Linked DNA regions of Homo sapiens: region 1 is linked to region 2. Evidence: promoter capture Hi-C in human tissues and cell types (Jung and others, 2019). All regions are on one chromosome and are shown on one strand. Each heading gives the region's core, a stretch centred on a gene start or on the middle of the fragment in contact. The rest is flanking DNA. Distances are from core to core; before and after follow the strand shown.

Evidence for each region. The method cuts DNA at HindIII sites, captures the fragments that hold promoters and counts their contacts. A contact is called where the count stands out against the background at its distance.
Region 1: a contact is called between a fragment that was not itself captured here and the fragment with the promoter of SP100 in region 2, in 1 of the 25 tissues and cell types used here (spleen).

Annotation. Positions count from the first base shown.
Region 1 is chr2:230,557,308-230,560,007 of GRCh38, reverse strand. No RefSeq gene overlaps it. Among named protein-coding and RNA genes, the nearest start is that of LINC01907, 140 kb to the left of the region's middle. The HindIII fragment of the contact is 4,770 bases long and covers 1-2,700 here.
Region 2 is chr2:230,414,887-230,417,586 of GRCh38, reverse strand. SP100 (SP100 nuclear antigen) reads right to left here and starts at 1,386. Exons shown (of 29, transcript NM_001080391.2): 1 at 1,259-1,386. The coding sequence starts at 1,290. RefSeq lists an enhancer at 1,220-1,739. The HindIII fragment of the contact is 8,532 bases long and covers 1-2,700 here.

The DNA of each region.
Region 1 (2,700 bases), core at 34-2,533, 140 kb before region 2:
GTTTGTTAATCACATGGTTCAGATTTTCTACATCCTTACTGATTTTTTGCTTGTGCCATCAGCGACTGAGGTGAGTTACAAGCTTCTACTTTGGTAGTGGATTTGTCTATTTCTCCTTTTAATCTTGTCAATCTTTGCTTTATATATTTTGTGGCTTTTCTGTTAGGTACCAATAAATGTAGAATTATCTTTTGTGTGTGTTGAATTTCTTATCATTGTGTAACGTCCCTCTTTATCCCTAATGGTGTTTTTTGCTTAAAAGTCTACACCAGTGTAGAAAAAATTTTTTTTTCTTTACTCTCTTAGGTTTAATGCCTGGGACCTATAAATTAAACTGACAAAAGACAGATTAACAGGAGAAAAAGCACAGAAATTTTATTTAATATTAGTATTTTTACATGGCAAAGGAAACATCATAGCAAGAAATAAAAACCCCAAATAAATGAATTGACTGGAGGCTTATATACTATTTTAACACAGAGCAATAACTTGTGGAGATGTAACAATACAAAGGAAAAAAGGATTTGGGCTAAGAGTGGTAAATTATGGGAAAGTGACTAAGAAATATATGGAGAAAACTAATGGGAGATAAGGGTTATTTTAGTGAGGTTTGTTTGTACAGATTCATCATGGCTTCAACTCCTTGACTCTGGTGATAAGAATGTTCTATTCCTGGTACAGGGATGGCACTTTTCTTAGGCATAAAGGTGTAAGAAAGAGACCCCTTTCTGCATCTGCTGTTTCTCAATTGCCTTCAGCTCAAAATAATCAACATGGCAAAGTGGCATATTATGGGGTGATATGTTCTGATACCATTCACCGGCTTTATATTTTTTTGAGACGACTTAGTGTTTGCATATCTTATTCCATCTTTTTATTTTTAACTTATATATCTTCGTATATTCAATCATGTCTCTTGCAAGCAGCCTATAGGTTTTCTTTAATCCAGTATGACAATGTTTGCCTTTTTTTTGTCTGTTTTTGAGACGGAGTCTTGCTCTGTCACCCAGGCTGGAGTGCAGTGGCATGATCTCGGCTCACTGCAACCTCCACCTCCTGGGTTCAAGCAATTCTCATGCCTTGACCTCCCGAGTAGTTGGGACTACAGGCACACGCCACCATGCCTACCTAATTTTTTTGTATTTTTAGTAGAGATGGGGGTCTCACCATATTGGCCGGGCTGGTCTCGAACTCCTGACCTCATGATCCACCTGCCTCAGCCTCCCAAAGTGCTGGGATTACAGGCATGAGCCACTGTGCCTGGGCTATGTTTGGCTTTTAATTGGAGAAATTGTTTCATTTACTTTCCATGTAACTACTGATATATTTAGGTTTAAATCTACCATCTTCCTGCTTGTTTTCTATTTGTCTTACCTGTTTTATGTTCCTTTTCTTCTTCTTACTTCTTTATTGGATTACATTAAAATTACATTATTATAGTCATTTTTGGTTTATCAATGCCTAGTAAACATTAATACTCTTACCATTTTCTAGACAACATAAGGACTTTACACATTCCTATTTTAGATTTCTCCTGCCATTTTATAAATCTTATAGATATTAGAAGTAAATATACTTTGGGAAAAGCCACTTGGAAAACAGAAAAGCCAATAAAACTCTTAATATTCATATAAACATATTTTTCTTTACAAAAGAATTATTCTAATTGTTTGCTGCATATGTTACAAATAGAAAATAATTCCTTTTGATTTTGGAAGATTCATGTAATAGTAGTAGTTAGCTTGCTTTGTAGTAGTTAAATTAGGCTATCTGCTCTAACAAATAGACCCCAATATATATAACATCCTCAAACAAAATTTAAGTTTATTTCTTTTAAAACAGTCTAATGAGTTACAAGTTGGTGAGATGGGAGGGTTGTTGGGTTGTTGGGGGCTCTCTTCCATGTAATTATGCATGGTCTCAGACTGATGGAGGTTTTGACACTCATGGCTTCCAAGGGTGTCCTTACTTGGAGACTGCCATCCAGTTCATGGCAGAGGAAAGATTGTGGGGCAGTACGTGTAAGAAGCTTTTATGGGTCAGCCTTGGAACTAGGCACATGTCTTCCTCAGATGTTCCTCTATCTAGAACTCGGTCATAGGCCACTCATACCTGCAGGAATTCCTGGAAAATATAGTTTAACTGTGTGCCCTGGAAGAAGAGGAAAATACAGTTTGGGTAAGCAGCTAGCTGTCTCTCCTATACACTTTCTATCTTGTCCTCAAGTATCACCCTTCTTCCGATCTTCCCACATATAGAACCCCTTACCCTCTTTCTTCCTGCCCCTCCCTTACAGGAGATAACACAAACTCCCATATAATTACTGCACACAGGCCAATATCCACTTACTTTGTGTGAAGTACAGTTCTCCCTATCAGGTCTGGATGATGTTCTTGATGTTTTGGTGACCTTTTAATAAGTTTGTCTTCCCTTACTGTACTTCCAATATACAATGTTTGATGAGTGACAGAGTAATCCCAATACAACTACTATCTAGGAAGTGGAAAAATGGGAGACAAACAGTGGCCAATGGTCTATTATCTAAATCTACCAGGCTGTGATTAAAGGGGTCCCTCTCCTCTAGCAGTGGAGGAATTTGGAAATTTCTTGACTTTGATTCTGCTCTTTTGAAATAATTCTCCTGACCGTGCCCTCTATTTTTTTTTTTTTTTCATTTTCTCTTTCAATTTCCTTCTTGGC
Region 2 (2,700 bases), core at 137-2,636:
AAAGACAATTTGGCAGGACCAAGTAAATAACTGGACCCTTTGCCTCAATAATTACATTTTTAAGGTTTAGAGACAAGATAAATATTTGTTTAGATGTAAAAACCCAAAAAGAAATATATAATCATTGTTATGATAGCTTATTGGTAAATGTGAACAATTTAAAAACAATCTAAATGTCCTTCAATTGGAGAATAAATAATTATCATATATCAATTCTATGGAATAGCATGTATAAAAAGAATGAGGCAGATCTATATGTATTAAGGTTAAAAGATCTCTAAGTTTTCCACTATTAAAATAAGTAAAAATGCAAAATGCAGACTAGCACATGTAATATAATTTATTATAAATCAAGAACATAAATTACGTATTTACAAAAAATGCATTAGATATATAAATGCATAGAAAAATATAAGAAAAGCTGTGCCCAAGACTCTTCACAGGACTGGGAAGAGAAGCTACAAGAATGGCTGAGTGGCAAAGATGACTTTTTCCTTAATATACTTCTCCACTGTTTTAAATTTTATGAACAATAATGTACAGTGTATTTCTTTTGTATTAAAAAATTTAAAAGATTAAGTAATGTTATTTCTCAACTCACTACTAGAGAAAAGTTAGGATTTCCTTCTCTTTTCTGGTCAGAGGTATCCCCCATCTTGGGACAGGAAATTGAGGTAAAAATGAAAATATTTAGCCGTTTGTCACCCTGGGCCTTTTTCTTCCCTTTCCTTCTTTTGATCAAGGTTGATGGAATAAGAACTCAGACCCTGAGCCAGTCATGGGAACAGCCGGCAGAGGCCCCTTGCCAGGACAGGTGAGACCACAGCGTCTGATGTTTAAAAGTAAGCCAGGTGTTTACCCTGGAGTGTTTATTTTCTAAAGCACCTTTTTTGACATGACATATTTGAAGGTAGAGGAAGGCTGAGGGGTGAAAGGGTTCACAGATCATGAGGAAATAGTTAATCCCAGCCACCAACAACTGCTATGTTTAGAGTGTCCCGGTCAGCTGAGCAGTAAATCCAAAACAAGAAAGTCACGTGTGTTATGGCAAGTTGAACTCACACCAACAGCTGTCCTGCTCCTGTTTAAAAAATCTGATTTCCTCATTACTTGTCTTTCATTTCATTATATAACATCGCATACCTATGTTCTTGCAAAGAAGGATTAAAGTGAAGCCTTAGGCACAAACTGAACTAAAGGCATGAAAGCTGCAATATAGCCAGAGATAAAGGTTAAAGGAAGGGAGATAAAGACTCACCTGGTGCTCAGGTCGCCGCCCCCACCTGCCATCTTCCCACCCTAGGCCCTGCGTGGGCCTCAGAGCCTGGCCTCTGAGCCCCTCAGTCGGCCCAGCCTGCGTGCAGTGTGGCTGCCCAGGCCCCAAGCAGGAAGTCGGCCGACAGACTGACTCAGAAAGGGCTCCGCCCAAATGGGGAAAAGAGAAGTGAAAGTATTTAACCTCCTTCTGGGCTACGGACACTGTGTTTCTCCTCCTTTTTCACTCCAAGGGATTCTCAGCTTTTCTGAAATGTGGCAGAGGGTTGGAGGAGAGGCCTGACAAGCAGCAAGACCTGCAGGACCAGGGAAGGAGGGCCCAGGGGACGAGCAGGGCCAGCTCCCGGGTGTCCACTTGTTTGTGCAATACACAGCCAAAAAAAATGTCCTTGAAACAAAATTGTCCTTAGCTGCTCTGCCCTCTAAGAGGGGGCATAGTTTACATGGGAGTTGGGGGGGAAACTCCATGTTTGCCCCTTCCCCTTGCTGACATGGCTTGGGGTGGGAGTTGGAGGGTTGGAGGGAAAGCCAGAAACCTCAAATCTTCTCTCAGGCCCATGGGAGAGCATGGACTGGACTAAGGTAGGTCCTGACATTGGGACCCAGGGCTGGAGAGAACCAAAATGCTCAGCATTATAACCTGGGGAGAGTGTGCTTAGCCTTCCTGGAAATCAGCCAGAAGTAAGAGAGAACTCTCCACACCCCTGGGACCAGAGGCTGGAGCCAGCATGGTAAGAAAGGCAAACATTTTAAGGGGCAAGGGTTTAAGGAATCTTGACTATGGGGCCGCCTTGGAACAGCCAGGGGTGAAGAGACACCTAAGCTTCGGAGAAGTCACTGGAATCTTGAGAGAACAAAAGCTTCTCATTGGAGGAGGATGGAGGTTGGAACCCAGATGATCTAGACATGGAAGGGCAGGGTGGCTCCCGCGGGAGGTTCTATCTCTGCCCAGATTTTCCATTTAGATTCTGATTCATCATTCCTCAGAGAACAAGAAGCGACCGAGAAGACTCGCTTTACATCAGTATAAAGTCATAGGTAAAGAAACAGAAGCAAAGGGCGCATGAGAATGGGGCCACAGGACACAACCAGGGACCAGAACTCCAGGCCGGACCATGGGGCAGAGACAGGGAGGCAGCTGGGAGCCTGGGGGCGCTGGAATCCAGGGCCCAAGGTGAGCAGAGGGTGGAAGCTGGTGAGGATTCAGGGGCCAGAGGGGATGGCACTTCAGAACGGTGTTTTCCAAATGGCATTCTACTGAATCCAACTTCTTCCAGCTGTGAATAAGGATGCTTGTCCAGGTACATTTGAAAATGTGGGGGAAGGGGCTTTCTACCCTCACTCTACTTCTGCTCTTCTTTTCCCCATGAGTGAATGACCAGGCACCAGGACATTGGTGAGGACAGCTTTGCCGGTGGGCGAAGG